Linked DNA regions of Homo sapiens: all the other regions are linked to region 4. The links are contacts of gene promoters, found by promoter capture Hi-C in human tissues and cell types (Jung and others, 2019). All regions are on one chromosome and are shown on one strand. Each heading gives the region's core, a stretch centred on a gene start or on the middle of the fragment in contact. The rest is flanking DNA. Distances are from core to core; before and after follow the strand shown.

Region 1 (3,349 bases), core at 786-3,285, 840 kb before region 4:
AATCAATATATGTAAGAAGTACATTGGTTCTGTCTGGAAAGGTGGGAAAACTTGAAGCAGAGGCAAGAAGACTCTAAGCAGGGAGGGAGCTTCCAGGTCACAGATAGGTGATACAAAAATGGTTATGTTCTTTTGAGTTTCTGATTAGCCTTTCCAAAGGAGGCAAATCAGATATGCACCTATCTCAGTGAGTAGAGGAGTGACTCTGAATAGAATGGGGAGCAGGTTTGCCCTGTAGCAGTTCCCAACTTGAGTTTTCCTTAGGGATTTTGGGGGCCCAAGATATTTTCCTTTCACACTGGGAAACTCAGGTCAACAAGGGAGCCTCATTCCAGTCTGTCTGACTTGCTTGAAATCAGGATGTGAAGCAGCATGGAGCTTTGGTAAAACAACATCTGTTTGACACCAACTTGAAACTGGGCTTTGATCTCTACTAAAGGTCACATGATGGGAACGAGCATGCCCTCAGGAGCCTAGGAGATGTAGGCGCTAAGTGAGGCCAAATTAATACAGCTGTGTCTGCTTTTTTTTGTCGCTATGAGACCACTACCTACTGCAGACACCACATATGGCTGAAGAAAAATAAACCTGTGGCCTGGTGAGGTGGCTCACGCCTGTAATCTCAGCAATTTGGGAAGCTGAGGAGGGCAGACCGCTTGAGCCCAGGAGTTGGAGACCAGCCTGGGCAACATGGTGAAGCCGTATCTCTGCAAAAAATACAAAAAATTAGCCACATGTGGTGGTGTGCCCTAGTGGTCCCAGCTACTAGGGAGGGTAGGATGGAAGATTGCTTGAGCCCAGGAGGCTGCAGTGAGCCATGATCACACCACTGCACCCCAGCCTGGATGAAAGAGCAAGACCCTGCCTCAAAAAAAAGAAAATAAAAAAAAAGAAGAAGAAATAAACTTGAGCATCATGCTGCACGAACATGGAGCAATTTCAGATATGGGTGAGATTTTCTGAGTTCTGGAATGCAGCTGATCAAGCAAGAGAAATAGCACACAGTCAGCACTCAACAAATAGTAACTGTAGTTATTATTGTTTAATGGGTAATACAGATTAGAAGAGAAATCTGGTGGATTGTAGGATGGAATTACATTAGTGTAACCAAGAAGGATATAAAATATACTTAGGATGCTGGCTAAAGGATAATTACAGTTCTATATGCAAGGGGGGAGAATGGAGGAAAAGAACTGAGTTGGAGAGGATTTAGGATTCTTTTTCTAAGTGTGAAGGGAAAGCACTGGAGCTAGGAGAGGAGAGTGTGGAGAAGGGAAGTGATAAGATCAGATTTATGTTTTGAAAAGATCTCTCTGTAGTATTGAGCATGGGCAGTAGGGAGTGTGGGTGAAAGCAGGGAAGTGGAGGAGTTTATGTCAGCTATGTCAGTAGTGGGGTAAGAAGCAATGGTGGCTTGGTAGTGCTTGCGTTGGATGTAGGAAGAAGTGCTCTGATCGAAGATACATTCTGCAGGTAGAACAGACAGGACTAGCTGATGTCTTGTATATGGGTCTTGAGAGAAAGAGAGGAGGAAAAGATAACTCTCAAACAACTGTAATGATGGTGTTGTTATTTGTCTAGAGATTGACTGCAGAAGAAACAGGATTGGGAGCAGGTGGTGAAATCAACAGTTTTGGGCCGTCTTAAGTTTGAGATGCCTGTTGGATGCTCAAGTAGAGACTTAACTAGGTAATTGGAACTTTGAGTCTGAAGTTTGTAATTGAGGTTAGGGCTGGAGAATCACATTTTAAAGTCTTTATTGTATAGATGATATTAAAAGTCATGGATCTAGATGGGATCATTGAGAGAATAAGTATAAATAGAGAAGAGGTTCCATGACCAGATCCTGGGATAGACAGAAGGAACAGTGAGTGAAGAAGGGGGAAATCAGACAGTGTAGGATCTAGGAATCAAAGTGGAGAAAAAGCCCAAGAAAGAGGGGATGATCAACTTTGTCAAATGATTCTCAAAGCATGACTGCAAAGAGAACTGAGATTTCATTACTGCCCTGGCATTGTGGAGTCACTGGAGATGTTAGCAAGAGCAGTTTCATGGATGTGCGGGGGATGTAAGCCTGAGTAGAGTTCTAGTGTCTTCTCTAAGGTTTTGTAGGAGAGATCATGATTGTAATGTAAAGGGATTGGAACTTCATCATGAGGGAAATAGCATTTTAGCAGGAGAGGAGATGCATTCAGATTTGCATTATAGAAAGAGTACCCTGGATGTAAGATAGTAGAAGGAAAGTCAGCTTGAAAACTGTTGTTGAGGGCGATGGCCAGAGCCAAGGCTAGCAACAGTGGTGGTGGAGAGAATAACTTGATTTAAAAGAAATTAAGGAGATGGAATCCCCAGAACTTGAAGATGGATTGGAGGTGAGAGGTGGGAGAGAAGGAGGTGGGTTAAAATCCTGACTCTACTACTTGATAGCTCTCTTAATGTCTCTGTAAATCTGTAAAATGTAAATCTGTAATGTCTCTGTCATCTGTAAAATGAGGCTAATAACATATCTACTTCATAGGTAAATTGTAGGATTCAATGAGATAATGCATGTCAGATGCTTACCACAGGATCTGGCATATGGCAGCTATTGAAACCCATAAACAGAACCTTAAAACCTTTTAGATTTCCTTCACCCTTTATTAAGCACCCTCTTCTTTGAGACTGTTACCTCTTTATTTGGCAATAAGAGCTGACATCTTTTTTGAGGAAGGCATCATTAACCATTTGTAAGAATCCACAGCTCGGCCGACTTCTTTGCCAGGAAGATGACATGATTCATATTTAATACTAAGTGTTATATAATCTATATATTATTATTTCATATCATCAATGAGACTCAGATATCAAAAATCACTTTGACTAAAAGCCTTCACTCAGACGTGGATACAATTGGCTGTTTTTGTGATTGACATTCAGTGATAGTTAGGTTCACAGGGACAAAAAATTTTACATGTAGGTTGATTTGCTTATATCATGCCTTCAATTTGTCCACACAAATTGGGCACTTAGGTACACAATTACCCAATTAGTGGGAGTCATTTCCTAATCGCAGGGGCAAACATGATAATTGAGCCCTCAAATGGCTAAGCACACACAATTTGCTTCCTTTTAGGAAAGGTGGCACTTTTGAGTTTCATGTTGGAATTAAAAGCATCTAACAGCTAAGGATTCCTTTCCTAAATGAATGGTGGTGTCACTTCAGCACGGGCTGAGCATGGTGGTTAAGTAACTTAAGGAGCTATTAGTTCTAGAGTTTCCATGTGAGGATTGTGTTTTTTTTACTGGATATTTTGTTGAGATTTCTTGTCCTTGTGTGCACCACTGGACCACCAGGGAATTTTGTCAACAG
Region 2 (3,454 bases), core at 274-2,773, 730 kb before region 4:
TTCCTACCTGTTCTATAAAGGACATTTCAGTGCTTTCTGCTTCTAAAAGTCTCCCAGAATTTTTATCAGCCAGACTAAGCCTTTTTCTCCTTAAAACTTTTCTTCTTAGACATTGTTTCTGAGAAATGTTTGACCTATCACAGACTGTAACTTTTTAAAAACTGATTCGTTCACATGTCATAGGCTCCTTAAAGGATTGACTTACTATGAATAACTTCAATTTTATAATTTTGTATGTCAGAATCAGCAATTCGTAGTCCACTTAGAACAATTCAATTAGCTACAATGACCTATTGTGTAGAAAAAAAAAACTGTAGCAGTTCCTAAAAAAATTTTTTTTTAAAAAAACTCATTTAAACCATGGACTTGTGCTCCCTGACAAATTAAGAAACAAAACTTCAGAGAATTTTGCCTCATCATATTTCAGAATGTGCTTAGATCTGTGAGGTCCATCCATGGGCTACCACCCTCATTTGCCCAACATTAAGAACTCTGCTTCAATAGGTTAATCATCTTGCATCTTACATTATTTGAAGTGAACTATATTTAGTATTGCCAATAGAAGACTGCCAATGGAATTAATATGAAACTTGATTCAGTAACTGTATTTTTAAATGGATCTGCTGTCAGAAAGAAAAGGGGCTATCTGTGGGCCTTGAAAAGGATATTATAAATGTCATTTTGCTTGGATGCAAGTGAAATATGCATTTAGGCTCTGTACTGACCAGAAATGCTTAAATCCAAGTCACCCAAGGTTTGAACTACTCTCTTTTGATGGCATAAAAATAAATTCCCTGGATCAGTAGTGAACCATTTAGTGTATCAGACTCAATGCACTGATAAATACCTTCTAGCCTCATTTGGTCTATTTCTTATTAAACAAGACCAAGCTTGTAGCTACTCAATATCAAATCAGCTGTCTGGGGGTTTCTTTGTGGTTGTTTCATAAAGCTGTTAACACAGCTGTGGACCAAGTAACTAATTAATCGACAAAATTAACTGATCTAATTGGTCATTATTATGCGAGAGAAAGCAATCCACATGCAAGCAATAGAGGTTTACATAATAGCGGTCCTCAGGACTTTGGTTTATAAAGCTGAACTCACTCTCTCCCTTGAATCTCAGTCTGTGGCCTCTCTTTTCTGCTACGCTACATTCTGTTGACTCATACACTGTAATTTTCTTTGTCATTTCCATCTCTAACATTGCTACCCATGGCCTCAAACCTAGACAATTACAATAGTTTCCAATTAAGCTTCCACCTTCGAGTTTCTCCTCCATGCAAACAAATTTCTTTTAAAAATGATTACTTTTTGTTTACATAAATAATGCATACTCTCGTTATTAAAAGTAAAACCCTTATGGATGTGGTTAAAAATCCCTTTGACAGCCTTCTTATCCTTAAAATACTATTTCTTTCTCCACTTCTCCAAAGGCAGCACTTGTGTATGTGAACTTCCAGACGTGATTCTTTTTTTTTTTTTTCTTTTTTTTTTTTTTTTAGCAGAGTCTAACTCTTGTCACCCAGGCTGGAGTGCAAAGGCACAATCTTGGCTCACTGCAACCTCCGCCTCCTGGGTTCAAGCAATTCTCCTGCCTCAGCCTCCAGAGGAGCTGGGATTACACGCACGTGCCACCATGCCTGACTAATTTTTGTATTTTTAGTAAGAGAGATGGGGTTTCGCCATGTTAGCCAGGCTGGTCTCGAACTCCTGACCTCAGGTGATCCGCCTGCCTCGGCCTCCCAAAGTGCTGAGATTACAGGCATGAGCCACCATGCCCGGCCGATTCTTTGTATTTGTAAAAACACTTGCCAATCGAAAATATGTAGAATAGAAAATGTGTTGAAATGTGTGTGCCTGCATGTGTGTACATGTAAATAGTATCATGATTTATTTATTTAGCAACACGCTTTTAAAAAAAATATTTTACTGTGATAAGAGCACTCAACATGAGATCTCTTAAAAAATGTCGAAGCACACAGGATTGTTGGTTGTGTACGGTGTCGTACAGCAGATCTCTAGAACGTATTCATTCCGCTTAACTGAAACTTTACGATTGCTTATGAACAACTCTCCATTTCCCTTTCCCTCATCCCCTAGCAGCCACCATTCCACTTTTTAACTCAGTGATTTTACTATTTTATTTTATTATTATTATTATCATTATTTTTAAAATTTTGAGACAGAGTCTCACTCTGTTGCCCAGGCTGGAGTGCAATGGTGTGATCTTGGCTTACCGCAGCCTCTGCGCCTACAGGGTTCAAGCGATTCTCCTGCTTCAGCCTCCTGAGTAGCTGGGATTACAGGCACGTGCCATCACGCTCGAGTAATTTTTGTATTTTTAGTAGAGATGGGGTTTTGCCATGTTGGCCAGACTGGTCTTAGACTCCTGATCTCAGGTGATCCTACCCCCTCTGCCTCTCGAAGTGCTGGGATTAGAGGTGTGAGCCACCACGCTCGGCCACTGTTTTAAATATTTCATATATATAAGATCTTGCAGTATGTGTCCTTCTGTGACTGGCTTATTTCACTTAGCATAATGTCCTCAAGGTTCAGTTCATGGTGTTACATATTGCAGAATTTCTTTGCCTTTGAAGGCTGAGTAATATTTCATTGTTCTGTATCCATTCATCTGCTGATGGACACTTAGCTTGTCTGTCTTCATTTTGGCTATTGTGAATAGTGCTGCAATAAACACGAGAGTGCTAACATCGCTTCAAGATCCTGATTTCAATTCTTTTGGAAGAAACTCCTGAAAGAATAAGTGGGGGAAAAGCTTCATGACATTGATCTTGGCAATGATTTTGTGGATTTGACAACAATAGCATAGGCAACAAAAGCAAAAATAGACAAATAAGTCTACAACAAACTAAAAAACTTCTGTACAGCAAAGGAAATTTCCACAGAGTAGAAAAAACAACTTCAGGAAAGTGAGAAAATATCTGCAAAACATATATCTGATAAACGGTTGACTTCTGAAATCTATAAGGAGCTCCTACACTCCATAGCAAGAAATAAAAAATTAATCATCCCGTTTAAAATGGTCTAGAGACCTGAATAGACATTTCTCCAAAGAAAACATAAAAGTAGCCAACAAGTATATGAAAAAATGCTCCAAGCCACTAGTCATCAGGGAAATGGAAATCAAAACCACAATGAGATATGACCTAAAACCTGTAAAAATAACTATTATTAAAAAATTTTTAAAAACAAAAGACAGGCCGGGCATGGTGCCTCATGCCTGTAATCCCAGCACTTTGCGAGGCCGAGGCGGGTGGATCACCTGAGGTCAGGAGTTTAAGACCAGCCTGGCCAACATGGTGAAACCCCATCTCTATTAAAAATACAAAAATTAGCCCAGCGTGGTGGCCAGCGCCTGTAATCCCAGCTCCTTGGGAGCCTAAGGCAGGAGAATCGCTTGAGCACGGGAGGCGGAGGTTGCAGCGAGCCGA
Region 3 (3,230 bases), core at 574-3,073, 790 kb before region 4:
TAGGATTGGTACTAGCTAGTTCTTCATTCTATGTCTGGTACAATTTGTCTGCAAATCTGTCTAGGTCGGGGCTTGTTATGATTGGTAGGGTTTTTATTACTGATTCAATTTTGGAACTTGTTATTGGTCTGTTTAGGGTTTCAATTTCTTCCTGGTTCAATTTTGTGAGATTATGTGTTTCCACAAATTTATGTATTTCTTCTAGGTTTTCTCCAAAAAGTTTTTAAGGATGGGAGGCATTTTTACCTTAAGAAAAAACAATTATTATTGACTATAATGTGGAGACAGCATATATTTGTTTTTAGAGCCTTAATATTTTGTAAACCTTTACCTTTATCTCTGTAATACTGTTTTTGACCAGATTCCCTAGAACCAGAGCTTAAGATGAGAGTTCTTTTTTAAGTGGTTTATTGAGAATGCTCTTAGGAGAAGGGGAGTGAAAGCGCAGGGGAAAAGAACTCAGCCAGGGTGGGTCAGCTGGAGACTGGCTTCCACCTGATCTCAAGGTGAACTCTGGAACCTATGCTGCATCACAGTTAATCCCACCTTGAGGCAAGGGAAACCACAGGGGTCAACTGTGAGCCTTCAGCAGCCAGTACTCATGACACATATGGGCACACTGGCCTGTTAAAGATCTGAGTGGGGTAACAACAGTGTCAATGGCAAGGGCTTTATTTACCTTGCCTTGAATTGGAAGAGAATTTCTTTTTCTTATTAGAGATGGGGTCTCGCCATGTTGCCCAGGCTGGAACTCCTGGGGTCAAGCTATCCTCCCACCTCTGCCTCCCAAAGTGCTGGGATTACAGGCATAAGCCACCGTGCCCAGCCTGGAAGAGACTTAGTTCGTGTATATTTATGTATTTATTTTATTAGTAAGAAATGCATGTGGTTAAAAAGACAACTAAAAAGGTGTGCAATCCGTCTCCAATTTTCTTCCCCAGAGACAGTCACTCTTAAGCATTTCTTGTATATCCTTTCAAGGGTAGTCTATATGTATTTTTCTCTTCCTTTTTGTAAACCAAATTATAGCATTATGCTCTGCATGTTGTTCTCGTGACTGAATGAGGAAAGTTGGAGAATATTCTATATCAAAATATAGAGGGCTGTGTCATCATTTTTAATGGCTGTAGAGCATAGCACTGTTTCTATAAACCACAGTATATTCACCTTGATTTTTTTGCAGTTAATTTTCCTTTTATGGCTTTACTATGCACATGTATATAAACCACTTTAAATAGTTGAAATAGTCTAGAAGATAAATTACTAAAACTAACACGTAGGATCTCATGTCCTATAAGAGTTCACCTGGAAGACCAATAACAGGACCTGGAAATAGCACATTCCAAGAGAAAAATCATACGTTTTTCCTATATGACCCTGTGGAGTACAACCAGTGATGGGTATAAGTTGGGGAGCTTTGGCTGAAACTCTTGTCACTTCATCTGAGCACGGCAGAAATCCCAAGCCAATTTCAGAGCAATTTCAGAGCACTTCGTAGGTTTCTGAGGAATCCATTGACTATATCCAAAGCTCTCCAAACTTTGGTCCAAACTTTCTTTATTGATTTAATGTAAAGCCTAATAAAATTCTGTGGCTTTAAAATAAACCAGCCTAAACTAGATTTGGGTTTAAAAGCCGCCGCGACGGTACATTTGTATATCTGTATCTTTATCTGTGGAAATTTAATTGTCTTTTCTAAGTCATGGTTTAATGGAGCAAAGGTCTGAAACAGTCCCTGCTTGGTTGTGTTGCAAAATGAACAGTTGACATTCTTACAAGATGAAAAGCTGCTTCAGAAGCTAAAGACAGAAGCTTGGCTTCTCCCTTGGGGAAGCCTGGGTAGCCATGATTCACACACAGCAGGTACCAACATGGAGCTCAGTTAGGGTAAGGGTGTTGGTGCTTCCACAAGCAGAGTCTCCCTAGGTTCTTTTTTTTTTCTTTTTTCTTTTTTTTTTTTTAAATTTCAAAGGACAGATGCCCCATGGCCAGATTCCATGAGTAAAAAACTTGGCCCAAAATTTAATGTGGCTTTGTAATTCCTGTTTCATTGTATATGAAACCATGTGGATGGAACTTAGATGTCTGCCATTTCTTAGATAAGCATGTTTCACCAGAGACAACTAACACCTAGAATTAGATTAAAATGTCTGTTGAGTAGTCCTCTATTGTGTATAAGTACTGCATTTTCTTTCATTTTTTTAATCATCCTGGTGTTTTTTAATTTTTTGACGGAGACTCACTCTGCTGCCAGGCTGGAGTACAGTGGCACAATCTTGGCTCACTGCAACCTCCACCTCCCAGGTTCAAGCGATTCTCCTGCCTCAGCCTCCTGAGTAGCTGGGACTACAGGCGCACACCACCATGCCCAGCTAATTTTTCTATTTTTAGTTGAGACGGGGTTTCACCATGTTGACAAGGATGGTCTCGATCTCTTGACCTTGTGATCCACCTGACTTGGCCTCCCACAGTGCTGAGATTACAGGTGTGAGCCGCTGCGCCCGGCCTCTTTTTTTTTTTTTAACTTTTATTTTAAATTCAGGAGTACAAGTGCAGGTTTGTTACATAGGTAAACTTGTTTCATGGGGGTTTGTTGTATAGATTATTTCATCATCCATGTATTAAACCTAGTACTCATTAGTTATTTTTCCTGATCCTAACTAAAAGAGTATAATTGGATTGTTAGTAACACAAAAGATGAATGCTTGAGGGAAGGGGGACTCCATTTTCCATGATGTGATTATTATGCATTGCATGCCTGTATCAGAACAGCCAGTGTACCCTATAAATATATATACCTACTGTCCCCCACAAAAACTAAAATAAAAAATAAAAATAATAAACATAACACCAAAAAAATAAAATAAAATGTCTGTTAATAGATACCAATAAGACATAGTATTTTACATTGTCCGGTGTCCAGCTTAGAATGAAGGTACTGTTGAAAGGCTTGGAATAAGACTTTCATTGTCTGAGGATTAGTAGTGAAGGTCAGGTGTTTTGGTACCTTGTAGAAATTAAAAATAACTCAGGTGTGTTTCCTTTCTCTCCCTCTTTGGAAGAGGTGAAAGTGATGGGCAAATGTCAACTACTTTATCCAACACTGCTCAGTGAAGGTGTTGAATAAGATACTCATTAATAGCAGAACTGAATTTTTAATTGGCAAAATGTCACCTTGATGGATTTTATATGTAGGTGGGTTATTTCTTCTTTTCAGCTTATATCGTTGA
Region 4 (3,443 bases), core at 457-2,956:
GGCCCCGGGCAGGGAGAAGTGGTGGCCAGAGAAAGGGATGAGGTGGGTAAAGGGGCGGGGGCAGCTGAGGTCCCAAATCCAGGGACGGCGAAGCTCTGGGAAAGCGAGGCGGCCGCTCCAAGCAAGGCTTTTGTTCTCGCCCTCCCCTCACTCCACCTCCCTCGTCTCCTTTTCGCGAGTCGTACGAGTTGCAGGCGGCACTCACTCTGACCCTCCCTCCTTCACACACGCGCGCTCGGGCTCACACACGCCCCCCTCCCCTTTCGGGCTCGCCTGCCCCTGTTTACCAAAAAGCTAGCACCTGGAATCCGAGGGGTGCCATGGACCCTCTCCCCAAACCCGAAGATTTCGGGGCCACGGGCTCCCAGGCTACGTGTCTCAAGTCCGCCTCAGTCACCAGCGGGAGGAGGCGGCCAGAGGGTGAGGGAGCAGAGTCACACACACACACACACACGCTCACACACACACGAACACGCTCAGACCCACACCTGTGCTGAGCCCAGCGCCCCTTCTCCGTGTTCCAAGCCGAAGTTGGCTTCCCGGTGACATCCCCCAGCGGAGAGGCTGGGATGCGGGGAGCGGGGACCGTGGGGAGCGCCATTGCCTGGGGGAAGGTGGGGAGGAGAGAGCAGGGAGAGCGAAGCCCCGAGGGGAGGGCGAAGGGGAGGCAGCCCACCTGGACATGTGCTCCCTTTGGGGCCGGTGCGCTTTCTCCAGCCCCAGCTTGGTGAAGATGCCCACGAGCACCATGACGGCCACCACCCCGCAGATGATGTAGACGATCAGGTTGGTCTTGTCCTTGGTGGGGTCGTGCAAGGGGTCGTCCTTGCGGGCGGGGGGCTTGCCGGTGTTGAGCCAGAGCGGCGTGTCGTAGTTGGTGCAGGTGCTTTGGTTCAGTCGCCGCTTCTTAAACGTGCAGCAGAACCGGAAGCCACAAGTCCCGCAGCAGAAGATGAAGTCGCCCGAGCTGCAGTTGAACGGCGGGTCCCACTGGCCCATGACATCGAAGTAGCCCCGGCAGAAGTCCGGCGTGGGCGCCCGGGTCGGGGGCGCGTCCGATGCCTCAGCGCCCTCGCTGGCCTCTCCGGAGGCGGCCCCGGAGCGGTTGCCCCCCGCCAGCAGCAACACGCCGCCCAGTTGCGCCAGCTGCCCGTGTCCCGCTCGCTCCTGCGCCCGGCACACGCGGGCGCACAGCTCGGTGAGGAAGCAACCGAGGAGCAGCCGAAGGACGCGGCGCATGGTGTCTCCCAGCCCGGGCTCGGCCGCTCGGCCGCCGCTGGAGCCTCTGCGGCCGCCTCTCGAGGCGCGGCCGAAGCTGCCGAGGCTGCTGCCGGGAGCTGCGAGCCGCCGCGGGCCGCACATGCAGGGAGCGGCGCGGGGCGCTCGGTGGTCGGCGGCCACTGCGCTCGGCTCAGCCCGCGTTCGCCTCAGCCCGCGTTCGCCTCCAGCGCGCCGCGCGCCGAGGGGCCGGCCGGGGAGGAGCGCGCCCGGCCGGGCGGGGGGAGGATGAGCGGGGTCAAGCGCGGGGTGCAGGTCCGGCCGGCCACTGGGTGAGGCGGGGGTGGAGAGCAGAGGAGAATCGGGCTGGCAGCGCCTAGCCTTGGCCGGCAGCCCCGGACTGGCCGCCCCTAGCCCTCTCGCAGTATCCCTCTCACCTCACCAGCTCGCCAAGTGCGCTGAAGAGAGCGAAGCGACACTTGTGGAATGAAGGGAGGGCAGGAGGGAAGGGGGAGGGGGAGGAGGGCGGGCAGAGGAGGCGCGGGTGGGGGGGGGCGGGCGCGAGCTCTAGAGGGGCGGGGGCGCGGGGAAGAGGTGACTAGAGCGGGAGCTAGCTGGGGGGCGTGCAGAGCTGAGCCAGGCGAGCGGACGGGGAGGAGCGAGCTCGGCAGCAGCCGAGGCTAGAGGAGCCGCTCGGATTTCCAGGCAGGTGGAAAACCGCGGCAGGACCTCCCGCGCCCTCTCTGGGTAGGAGGCGCGGCTCAGCCCTGTCCAGAGCGCAGAGGCGGCTCAGCTCGTAGCTTTTTCACCGGTGCGTGTGCAGGAGCGGCGGCCGAAATCTGTGCATCAGGGGAAGGATGACTCGGAGAGGATGGGGACAGACTAAATGGCTTTCACTCCAAGACAGACTGGGTGCAGTCTGGTCAGGATCGCCCCTCCCAGGCGTGCGGGGCCTCCTTGCCCTTCCCGGCTGCGCCCTCCAGCCCTGAGCGCAACCCGCATGGCTCAACTCTCTGGGCCCAAGCAAGGACCCAGGCGGAGCTGGGAAGGACAGGTGGCAAGCCCCTGAGCCAGGGATAAGCACCCTCCGGGGGAGAGGGGCTCGGGATGAACGAATCAAAGAAGGTCGGGGGTAAGAGGGGACAGCCGAACAAGGCCGAGGCTATGGCGTGTCCTGGAAGGTCTTTCCTTGGAAGTCCCCCAGCCTCTCGAACCTGCCGCTTTCTGTCCCTCTTCGCCCCCGCAGCGTTTTCTGCGCTCCACAGGAGGGAACACCGCGGCGCCGCCTCTGCGCTCCCGGATCTGGCGCAGCGCAAGGCCTGGGCACCCAGCCTCAGCCACCCTCCCGGACCTGGAGCCCGCGCATCGGTCTCTGGAGCTGGCTGGCCCCTGTCCCCACGGATCCCCCCGGAAATCCTCACCGGGGGCTGCAGAGCTCTGCCTTGCTTCCTCAGCTTCCAGCCTCCCGTCTCCTCTGTGTTTCCAAATCTGCCCTCTCTCTCCTAGCGAATTCCAGCTCCCCGGAGGCCCTCTCTCATTTCTCCCACCTCTTTCTCTCCTCTGCTTGAATTTGACTCCAGTAGCCCCAAAACAGGATTTGCACCAAAGCTGCTACACCAAATTTAGATCTCCCCACGCCCCGGCGTTTTGTTTTTTAATTGCATTAACTAAGTATACACTTTGCAGGCTGCTAGGCGATTTGCAAGGAGATAATGTTTCCACAACCCTCCTCTCCACTTGGCTGCAGTCAAGGGCTTCTCAGGGCATCTTCAGAGAACGAAAAGTTGGGCGACATGTAAAATGGTTTACTAGGGTCCCCTGAATTGAGAAAGGGTGGGAGGATTTATTGGGACTCTGTTGCAAGTTTTCTCCAAATGAGAAGTTTGGCTAATCGCCCCTTCTCTTTGAAAAAAAAAGTCACATTTTGATGTTTCAAAAAAGATTTGCAAACACACAGCAAGACATTGACAGGGCATACCCAGGAGTATTATATTCCAAACCCATCTGGGGAAGGTATGAACACGTTTAATCCAGATTCACCAGATTCATTATAATAGAATCCCCAAAATAGGAGAGTATGGAAAGTCTGTCATGACTGGCAACCCACGCCCACCACCACCTTGTGAGTCCTACAAACACAAGCACTGGTGTGTGAGAGCTAATGAGAGCTGACATTTATTCAGTGCCTGCAACATACTCACTAAGCTTGCTTTTTCTAAAAGCAG
Region 5 (3,674 bases), core at 911-3,410, 1.0 Mb before region 4:
TACTTGTGATGGGTCCATGTCTTTCTTTTCTTTTCTATTTTTGAGATGGAGTCTCACTCTGTCACCCAGGCTGGAATGCAGTGGCACGATCTTGGCTCACTGCAACCTTTGCCTCCTGGGTTCTAGTGATTCTCCTGCCTCAGGCTTCTTAGTAGCTGGGATTACAGGTGTGCGCCACCACACCCGGCTAATTTTTGTATTTTTAGTAGACATGGGGTTTCGCCATGCTGGCCAGGTTGGTCTCGAACTCCTGACCTCAAGTGAACTGCCCACCTCGGCCTCCCAAAGTGCTGGGATTACAGGCGTCAGCCACTGCACCTGGCTGGTCCGTGTCATTAGATTACTCCCTTTTGCAACTCAGAGGAAACCCTTAGCAGTGACGACTTTAAACTTTTCTTTCTTGTATTGAGTATTCCTTCTGCAGCTGACCCAGCCCTTCAGTACAGAATGTCACAATACAGTACCGGCACACATTGTGGTTGTGGCCTTGGGGAGAATGAATGACAGTGCAATAAGGGGAAGATAAATGTTTCAGAGCCGAGCAGACTCAAGAGTGATCATCATGCACCCACTTACTTATGGAAAAAGTATGCAGCATGTATCTTCTATGATACATGAGATAATTTTAGATGGTAAATAGAAATAACATTAATAGCATCAAAAAACAATGAGTAACTAAATCAGCTGGGAGGCACACCCTTTTTCTCTTCTATTCATTCTCTTTTTTTCCTCCTGGTATATGGATGTGATATTTGGAGCTCCAGCATCTATTTTGTGACCATGAGACAACATTGAAGATGGAAGCCATATTTTAAGAATAGCAGAGTAGGGCAGGGCATGGTGGCTCACCCCTGTAATCCTGGCACTTTGGGAGGCAGAGGTGGGCGGATCACCTGAGGTCAGGAGTTCGAGACCAGCCTGGCCAACATGATGAAACCCTGTCTCTACTAAAAATATGAAAATTAAGCCGGGCACAGTGACTCACGCCTGTAATCCCAGCACTTTGGGAGGCCGAGGTGGGCAGATCACGAGGTCAGGAGATCAAGACAATCCTGGCTAACACGGTGAAACCTCGTCTCTACTAAAAAAAATACAAAAAATTAGCTGCATGTGGTGGCATGCACCTGTAGTCCCAGCTACTCGGGAGGCTGAGGCAGGAGAATCACTTGAATCCCAGCTACTTGGGAGGCTGAGGTAGGGGAATCACTTGACCCCAGGAGATGGAGGTTGAAGTTAGCTGAGATCATGCTACTGCACTCCAGCTAGGACCACGGAGTGAGACTCTATCTCAAAAAAAAAAAAAAAAAAAAAAAAAGAGGCTGGGAGTGGTGGCTTACACCTGTAATCCCAGCACTTTGGGAGGCTGAGGCGGGCGGATCACGAGGTCAGGAGATCGAGACCATCCTGGCTAACGGGGTGAAACCCCATCTCTACTAAAAATACAAAAAATTAGCCAGGCGTGGTGGGGGGTGCCTGTAGTCCCAGCTACTCGGGAGGCTGAGGCGGGAGAATGGTGTGAACCCAGGAGGCGGAGCTTGCAGCGAACCGAGATCACGCCACTGCACTCCAGCCTGGGTGACAGAACGAGACTCTGTCTCAAAAAAAAAAAAAAAAAAAGAAAAAGAAAAAAAAAGAGAAAGAATAGCAGAGTAGAAAGACTGCAGAAACTTAATTTTTGTGATATACATCTACCTCTAGCCTTGGCTTGTCTACTTCTGGACTTCTTTCATATGTGAGAAAAATAAACCTCTAATTTGTTGAAGCCACTGTTATCTTTTTGGGATTTGTCACTAGCTGATAAATGTAATTCGTAACTGTTGTGGAGACATCTTGTGTTATTTAAAAGTGTGGAATGTTTATAGGCAAATAGTAACCATTACTCACTGTTGTAATTAATGTGAAAAACTGCAGTGTTTTTATTAAGAGGGAATTAAGCTTCAGCATTAAGCTAGTAATATCAATAAGAGGCATTTATAGTAGCTCTGAAGATAGCTGCAAGCTGTCATTACCCTAATAGGGTACAACACTCGCTGCCACAGCCGGGATCTTTTATCTTTTTTTTTTTTTTTGAGACAGCGTCTCGCTTTGTTATCCAGACTGTAGCGCAGTGGTGTGATTTTGGCTCCCTGCAACCTCCACCTCCTGGGTTCAAGTGATTCACCTGCCTCAGCCTACAGTAGCTGGGATTACAGGCGCTCACGTCACCACGCCTGGCTAATTTTTATATTTTTTAAGTAGAAACAGGGTTTCACGATGTTGCCCAGGCTGGTCTCGAACTCCTAGCCTCAAGTGATCCGCCCGACTTGGCCTCCCAAAGTGCTGGGGTTAGAGGCGTGAGCCAGCACTCCTGGCCCACAGCCAGGATCTTGGTAGCAGCTGTAGGATCAGTGCCACCTGATTCGGTGGTCGTTTGAGAGGCCACGCAAACTTAGGTGAGGGTAATAACACACATGCTGCATTTAATGCATAAAATAAGATGATTTATTTTAACAAAATGGTGCACATCAATGGGTGAACCCAGGCCATAGCAGCGCCTTGAGTAGGGATGCACAGCAAACTGACTCTGGGAATAAAAATGTGATGGGAGAACTTGTATGTATCCAAGCATTGTGATCTGCTTTATTCTCTTTTTTTTTTTTTTTTTTTTTTTTTTTTTTTTTTTTTTTTTGAGACGGAGTCTCATTTTGTTGCCCAGGCTGGAGTGCAGTGGCATGATATCGGCTCACTGCAACTTCTGCCTCCCAGATCAAGCAATTCTCATGCGTCAGCCTCCGGAGTGGCTGGGACTACAGCACCTGCCACCATGCCCAGCTAATTTTTGTATTTTTAGTAGAGGTGGGGTTTCACAGTCTCTACTAAAAATACAAAATTGTTGTATTTTTACAACAATTTTGGCCAGACTAGTCTCAAACTCCTGACCTCAAGTGATCCACCCACCTTGGCCTCCCAATGTGTTGGGATTACAGGCGTGAGCCACCCTGCCCAGTGTGGAATTTGCATTTCTAACAAGTTCTCCTAGGTGCTGGTGCTGCTGCTAACTCTGGTCTGGGGACCACATTTTGAGAACGATTGTATTAAGCCAAGTCCCATAGTGGAGTTATTTTTAGATGAAAAAGATCCATTTGAGCTGTTTACCCAGATCAAATTAATTAGGTACTTGTCAAATCTCCTCATTTCACTTTCTGAAGTGTAAAAATGAAATTAACCTCTGAAATGACTTTCCTTTTATTCCTCCCTCTCTCCCATGTTTTGAGCATTACTGAACCAGGCACAAAGGAGTGTAGTAAAAGGACATTTCTTACCCTGAGCCTGGAAAGGGCATGGCATTTGCAGCCTGGCAGAGTCTGATTTTCACCCCATTCCATCCCATCTGACTTCATGTGAGTATTTTGGTCTTAATGCCCTCATCTGAAACATGTTAACGATTTCCTATCCTAGACATCAAGCTGATGCAGTTATTAAAAAAGGAGACAGACGAAGCGAAGAGAACCTCATGCATCCCCTTGGAAAGAGAATTTTTTTTTCTTTCTTCTTGAGAAAATTCCTATAGCACTGATTCAAACTTTTTTCTTCCTTCTCTGCTTTTTTTTTCTTTTAAAAATGCTACCACAAAGCTGATATATATAAAAGCAAAATCTGGAGTTTTTTAATCATTGATTTGAGAATTATGCCAT
Region 6 (3,429 bases), core at 912-3,411, 740 kb before region 4:
TTTTATTTTATTTTATTTTTTGAGACGGAGTCTCGCTGTTTCGCCCAGGCCAGACTGCAGTGGCGCGATCTTGGCTCACTGCAAGCTCCGCCTCCCGGGTTCACGCCATTCTCCCGCTTCAGCCTCCCGAGTAGCTGGGACTACAGGCGCCCGCCATCGCGCCCGGCTAATTTTTTGTATTTTTAGTAGAGACGGGGTTTCACCGTGTTAGCCAGGATGGTCTCGATCTCCTGACCTAGTGATCCGCACGCCTCGGCCTCCCAATTCTGTGCTTCTTTGTCTGCCTCTTTTCTGTCTTTGTCTTTCTCTCTCTCTCTCTCATGTACATAAAAACAATACACATGGGGGGGGTGTATACGTAAGTATTTTTTTAGACATGACTTGGCTTCTTGTTATACCAACACTCCTCCCTCTATGTTATGAGGAACTGGGATTTGAACACACACACACACACACACACACACACACCCCCACACCCATTGACCTGTTCACATGAGCCTCCCTTGAATTGGGTCTAGTGGAAGATGCAGGCCCCCCGAATGATTCCTTGCCGGTAAGTAAGCACTGTAAAAATGCCAGCGTTTATTTGTAAAAGTGTTCCATTTGCGAGGATTTTGCCCCCTTGAAAACCTACTTAAAATTACCCATTTGTGTTTCACCCTTGGTCTCCTTCTGCAGCTTAGCCCTACCCAGGGTTAGTCACCTTTCCTTTCTGGTTATCAATTATCTTTGGTGGTTTCATTCCCATCCACAACTTTAGTTGCTACCTAGCATTTTAAATCAGGGTGTTCGGCTTCTGAGATTTTCGAGAGAATAGCACGTCTGATAATAAGCATTGGTTGACAGGCCCCATGTTCTGTCTACATTGTTTAATGGTGGGAAGAATGAAATATAAACAGCAAGCTAAATCATAGTATCTTCTTTCAGGTAATTCTTCTATTAATTCCACAGAGAGGGGAAAGCCTGTGGTCTTCATCTGAGGAAAGGACATCTGATGCCAGTGTTTTTTATCAAATTTGTCCAGAGTAGATTGGAAGCTGATTTTCAAGATATCAAACCAATATACAAGAAACTGTCATGGTTGGGTTTGTTTTTGTGGGTTAAAAAAAAAATAGCCCAACAACTCTTTGACCTATACAATCTGTCTTTGAAAAATGATTTCCACATGTGTGACATATTTGGACTGCCTTGTAAAAACACAATTTTTATTTGACAGTTTTAATATTTCGAACACTCCATGTTGACGTTTTTATCAGATGCATTGTTTTTGTTGGCAGTGGGAGTTTGCAAACTGATGAAGAAAATCAGGAAGGAAATTAGCTTGAAGCTGCTGAATATTTGCGACCAGAAGGTAAACGAAGGAGGTACCAAGTCTAGAAATAATTACCATCACTGCCACAATCCTCCATTAGTGCTGGCAAAAGACCCAGGGTCTGACAGTTAAATTAAAGCTTGCAACCCAGTGAAAAATTAGCAGAAGAAAGCTTGAATTCTGGCAACATCACATCGCATGCCATTTACTGTAGAACCTGACAACTTTGCTCCATTCATAAGATTCACTGGGAGATAAGACCGCTTAAAAAATGTAGAAAACAAATTCATCTATGGCAGGCAGTGTTTACAAAGCAATGGCTCAACCTGTTTGCCATTAAACTAGAAGCTTGCTCAATGGAATTTTTCTTTTATTATGCAGCATTGAATGATGACTGGACTTGAATGTAAAGCCCAGCTGCAACACGTATTAGCTGTGTGTCCTTGGACTAGTGACTTAACCTTTCTGAGACTTAGTTTCCTTACCTTCAAAATATATATAACAATATCACCTACCTAAATCAGGTTATTGAAGAGAAAATAAAATAATGCATTTAATGTGCGTTAACACGATGCCCAGCACATCACAGTGATAACTGTTGAAGTTGTTCTTATTGTTGTTCAAGCGATGGTGGAAGAAGAGATTAATTGCCATAGAGAGATTTGGGAGCCTTCTTAGAAAACGTGGAATCTGAGCTTTGTCTTGAACTAAGCGTGACATGTGCATTTGGGTTGGGAGAAGAATGGCAACCTAGGAAGAGGAGAATGTTTGAGCAGATCTGAGGTGGGAGAGTTTATGGCTTATTCAGTGAGATGGAGAAGGGCAGAAAACAGGGAATGTGGCCAGGCATGGTGGCTCACACTTTGGGAGGCCAAGACAGGTGGATTACCTGAGGTCAGGAGCTTGAGACCAGCCTGGCCAACATGGTGAAGCCCCATCTCTACTAAAAATATAAAAATTAGCCGGGCGTGGTGGCCAGTGGCTGTAATCCCAGCTACTTGGGAGGCTGAGGCAGGCGAATCGCTTGAACCCGGGAGGCACAGGTTGCAGTGAGCAGAGATAGCACCACTGCACTCCAGCCTGGGCAACAGGGTGAGACTCCATCAAAAAACAAAAACAAACAAACAAACAAAAACAGGGAATGGCTTTGAGTTAGTATAGTTTCAGGACCACTTTTCTCTGTGACTCTTCTGGCATAGGGGGTTGCTTTCCTGAGTAGTCAGGTGACATGCTTAAAACTAGGTTCTCGAGCCAGGCACAATGGCTCACACCTGTAATTGCAGCTACTCAGGAGGCTGAGGCAGGAGCATCACTTTAGCCCAGGAGTTCTAGGCTGCAGTAAGCTATGATCATGCCACTGCCCTCTGGCCTGGGTGACTGAGACTCCCTCTCAAAAGAAAAAATAAATAAATAAATAAAAATAAAATAAGCAAGAGTACTAGTACTAGCATGTTTATTGCAATATTATTGAGAATGGCTAAGAAAAGCAACAAGCAAACCCTATGTTTTTCCCCAATCAAGATAGTTGAATGGAGACATTTTCTCATTCTGTGGAATATTTTACCGCTTTTATAGTAATTATTAATAGTTACAACCTATAATCTGAGCAAGTTGCATTATATTTAACCTGGGCAAGTTGTATACTGTAATGAGACCAGTATAGTCCATTTTTTAAAAAAAGTAGGGAAAAAACCCTTTATTTATATGACCATATGTGTTTTCATATAGTTGTATAAACATAGAGAAAGATCACACATAACAGCCTTGTTTCTTTGGTGAATGAGTGTCAGGGATTGAGCAAGGAGGGAGAAACTTGCCTTTTTCTTTGTAAACCTCTGTTTTTGACTTGTTGCCACAAGCAGGCATTTTGTAGCTTGGAATAAAAATCCAATAAAGTATATAAAAAAGGTACTTTCCTGCTGAAGAAGGATACAGTAAAAGAAGGGGAGAGTGAAATTGAAGGAAAATTGTTGGAGCCTTAAGCATAGAAGAGGAGAATGACAGAAGCTTTTGTTCATTTATGTGCTGTACTGGCTTAAATTCCGCTAAGGGGAAATTTTTCCTCCTTCTTGTGCAGTGAACAGGGGTATTACAAAGTCAATTTATGTGTCTTAGCT
Region 7 (3,273 bases), core at 591-3,090, 810 kb after region 4:
ACATGCGTGAGTTAACGGGTGACAAGGACAGACTCAGTACTCGGCAGCACCATCACCAATGCTTCCTCAAGGGCTTCATAATGGCGACAACAGCTCCTCAAGCCCATCCCGACATCCTGCAGTGCTTAGTGACGGAACCAGAGGTGCAGCCTGGAAGATCACTGTCAGCCCCCTTTGCACACTGCAGGGAGGTTCCCTTCTGGCCCAGCATCCCCATCTGTGCAAGACCTCCTGACCTCCCCTGCACCGAGCCCTTAACCTTTCCCTCCTGTGACCCTCTGGACCTCAGCCACCCTATCCTTGCTACATTCATCCTGCTGTCATCGGTTCCTCCTTCCCCTCCTGGGAGCAAGGAATCCAGGGTCTATATGAGTGACCAGCATCCAGCACTGGTCTTTTTCCAGGTAAGGAGTTGGGAGCTGTACTGCATAACCTAAAACTTCCATTAGGAATTTCCCACTTCACGGGGAACTCGTTCCCATGGGTGGATCGAGTGGCGGTTGTTCAGTGCCACAGATAACAAAGAGTACATCACTCCCACATGACCCCATTGCCTCCCGTTTTGCCCCATCCAATCATTCATCATTTCTTTATTACCATAAAACTCCACTAGAATGCTCTGTGGGCAGGGCCCATGTGAGAAGAGCTAACATCTCCTGAGTGCTGAGCGCAATGTCAAAGCACTCTCTGTGTATGAACTCATTTAGTCCTCACAACAGCCCATGGTGCTGGCACTCTTAAATCTGCATTATAATGATGGGGAAATTTTAACATGTGACACAGAGCTTGTGCATGGCCAAGCTGGATCCCCACCTCTGGCTCCTCAGCACCTAGAACTGCGCCCAGCACATGAGAGATGTTTGGTAAATGTTTGGTGAATGAATAAACAGATGATAAAGAAGTGAGGCATGTCTAAATGCCATCTGGAACCTTCCAATTACTAAGACACTAAGACAGTCACTGAAGGGCTAATACACAAAATTCAGTGGGAAGTTTCCCCTTTAAAGAAAGATGCCCAGCGTGAGGGATCTGTGTTGGCCACGTCACCTAGGTTCACTTCTCGGCAGTTAAGGGGCAGGGGGCTCAGACTGCAGCCGATTTAACGGCCACTGCCCCACCATCTCATCCTAAAATTTTATCATGAAGCCCTTAGCCAAGCAAGCAGCTGGCTGCGGGGCCTCGCATCTCTCTCTGATGTTACTACAGCACTCCTCAACTTCATTTCTGGAGCTGCCGAATGTTTGGAATTGTGTTGCTAGGCGATGAGCCAGAACGCCTCACTAGCGTTGAGAATCTCTTCCAATAATAGCCAAGAGGAAAAAAAAGGACCCCCTCAACACAGCCTATTGACAAGTAAGGATGTTTTTCTTGCCCTCTCTGCCCTGGCTCACAATCAAAAGCTCTAACAAATTAAAAGGAAACAAATGGGCCGGATGGTCTGGGCTCACCTGACTCTATCACCTTCACTCCCCAGCCCCAAAAAAAGGGGCAAGAAGGCAACAATCGGGATTCAAAAGCTGAATACCCACAGCTAATCAATTATATCTCATGAAAAGCAATGACACAGGGGAAATGTTTTCTGATGAGCTGCAAATTCCCTTTTAGAACAGGACCACAAAGTGACTGGCAATGCATGACTGTGCTATACTGATGGTGAACAGAAAGCTGCATGCATGCTTGATGTTTTTCAACTAGAAAAGACCACTGCTCTCAACACCACCACCACTCGCGACCTCACCACTGAAAGGGGTACCGCGCTGGACATGAAAAATTCAGATAACCACCACCCGCAGCTGCGGAAGGAAAGCGGCAGAGAAAAGACTAGGGCGCCCCCTGGTGGCTCCAATGTGGCTCTTCCTGAAATTGGCAGGAATAAAGCCTGAGCCGCTTTCTTGCAACCTCCAGCTCCCAAATAACCATATATTCAAACGAAATTAACTCAAGAGTAGAAACTTTGTTGTTAAAAAGGAGGTGAAGGGAGACAAGGCTGTTGTAAACACCAACAAATATCAACTGAATGAATTTTGATTAAGATCTAGTAAAGTAGTACCAGTGAGCTGGTTTCCGCAGCAGTGACGGTACTTCCGCAGCTACGGAGTCAGGATCACTTAGTCTGGTGCATTCCACAGGTCTGTATCATTATGCATCTACTGCCTTCCTAAATCATCATCTTCATTGCAGGAGTGATGGCACGAAAAAGCTCCCAAACATACACACACACATGCATGCGCACACACACAAACAAATGCTCCCTGGGATCTATCATTTTCTTTAGGCTCATTTTTTCCTAAGTTTCATTCCTTGACCTATGCAGGAGGCGAGAGGTTTTAAAAAAAAAGCCTAAGACAAAATACGGTTCCTGGAAAACGGCCCTGCTGCTTCCTTCTGTCTTGGGGTTTCTCAAGTACTGTCGTTTGGGACTAGATAATGCTGTGTTGGGAGGAGCTGTCCTGTTGGGAGGACCTGTCCTGTCCACCACAGGACGTTCAGCAGCATCCCTGGGCTCTACTTAGCAGATGCCGGAAGGACCCTCATCCCAGGTGTGACAACCATATATGTCCCAGACATGGCTAAATGTCCCCTGGGGGTTGCAATCACCCCCAGCTAAGAACCACCATCCTGCGTGATCACTTCCAATTTTCAGGCCTCATAGAAAGAGTAGCCTGGTTTATGTCCTCTTAACCAGAGGGAGGATTGAGGGGTAGATACCAGCTAAAGGGAACTTCAGGGCCTCTGCAGGAGGGATGGTTTCAGTAAGATGGAAAATCAGGTCAACCTATTTGCAGTTCAACAATAAGGCCCAGATGTTGTTTTCAGGAAGATTCGTCAGCAACGTACCCTTTGAGGGTGTTGTTAATGATCACACCTACCAGTTATTCAGTCTTTAAGATGCCAGATACTCTCTTGGATTTTTTTTCCAATTTTTCTTATCAAGGTATAATTTACATAGCATATAACACCCTTCGATAGCTCAGGTGGTAATTTACATAGTGTATCTTCTGAGTATCTTCCATCTGTTAGTTCATTTAATCCTCACAACTGTGTCAGAGGGGTACTATGATAGCCCCATTTTATAGACGAGAACGCTGAGGCACAGTTAGCTTAAATAACTTGCCCAGGTTCCCACTGCTAATACATGTAGGGATGTGCGTAAGAACACAGCCAGTGTAGCTGGTTTAACATCAGCAAGCAGAACAGTAAAAACAAAAATAATGATACCACGATTGCCAGTGTTGCCCCAGACACTATGTGCAATTACCACCTGCTAACTAC

The links. The method cuts DNA at HindIII sites, captures the fragments that hold promoters and counts their contacts. A contact is called where the count stands out against the background at its distance.
Region 1: a contact is called between a fragment that was not itself captured here and the fragment with the promoter of SHISA9 in region 4, in 5 of the 25 tissues and cell types used here (H1 embryonic stem cells, bladder, dorsolateral prefrontal cortex and 2 more).
Region 2: a contact is called between a fragment that was not itself captured here and the fragment with the promoter of SHISA9 in region 4, in 2 of the 25 tissues and cell types used here (dorsolateral prefrontal cortex and mesendoderm cells).
Region 3: a contact is called between a fragment that was not itself captured here and the fragment with the promoter of SHISA9 in region 4, in 2 of the 25 tissues and cell types used here (dorsolateral prefrontal cortex and lymphoblastoid cells).
Region 5: a fragment that was not itself captured here is called in contact with the fragment with the promoter of SHISA9 in region 4 in 4 of the 25 tissues and cell types used here (dorsolateral prefrontal cortex, lymphoblastoid cells, mesendoderm cells and 1 more).
Region 6: a fragment that was not itself captured here is called in contact with the fragment with the promoter of SHISA9 in region 4 in 6 of the 25 tissues and cell types used here (aorta, dorsolateral prefrontal cortex, heart left ventricle and 3 more).
Region 7: a contact is called between a fragment that was not itself captured here and the fragment with the promoter of SHISA9 in region 4, in 1 of the 25 tissues and cell types used here (dorsolateral prefrontal cortex).

The regions. Positions count from the first base shown.
Region 1 is chr16:13,736,401-13,739,749 of GRCh38, reverse strand. No RefSeq gene overlaps it. Among named protein-coding and RNA genes, the nearest start is that of ERCC4, 180 kb to the left of the region's middle. The HindIII fragment of the contact is 8,935 bases long and covers 1-3,349 here.
Region 2 is chr16:13,625,899-13,629,352 of GRCh38, reverse strand. No RefSeq gene overlaps it. Among named protein-coding and RNA genes, the nearest start is that of ERCC4, 290 kb to the left of the region's middle. The HindIII fragment of the contact is 3,717 bases long and covers 1-3,381 here.
Region 3 is chr16:13,688,018-13,691,247 of GRCh38, reverse strand. No RefSeq gene overlaps it. Among named protein-coding and RNA genes, the nearest start is that of ERCC4, 230 kb to the left of the region's middle. The HindIII fragment of the contact is 5,935 bases long and covers 1-3,230 here.
Region 4 is chr16:12,899,861-12,903,303 of GRCh38, reverse strand. SHISA9 (shisa family member 9) reads right to left here and starts at 1,706. Exons shown (of 5, transcript NM_001145204.3): 1 at 677-1,706. The coding sequence starts at 1,239. The HindIII fragment of the contact is 6,671 bases long and covers 1-3,443 here.
Region 5 is chr16:13,898,101-13,901,774 of GRCh38, reverse strand. LOC105371093 (a long non-coding RNA gene) reads left to right here. Exons shown (of 4, transcript XR_007065000.1): 3 at 3,255-3,380. Among named protein-coding and RNA genes, the nearest start is that of ERCC4, 20 kb to the left of the region's middle. The HindIII fragment of the contact is 8,964 bases long and covers 1-3,674 here.
Region 6 is chr16:13,643,868-13,647,296 of GRCh38, reverse strand. No RefSeq gene overlaps it. Among named protein-coding and RNA genes, the nearest start is that of ERCC4, 270 kb to the left of the region's middle. The HindIII fragment of the contact is 4,069 bases long and covers 127-3,429 here.
Region 7 is chr16:12,093,927-12,097,199 of GRCh38, reverse strand. The region is part of intron 11 of SNX29 (sorting nexin 29); the gene reads right to left. Among named protein-coding and RNA genes, the nearest start is that of SNX29, 120 kb to the right of the region's middle. RefSeq lists an enhancer at 1-510. The HindIII fragment of the contact is 9,110 bases long and covers 1-3,273 here.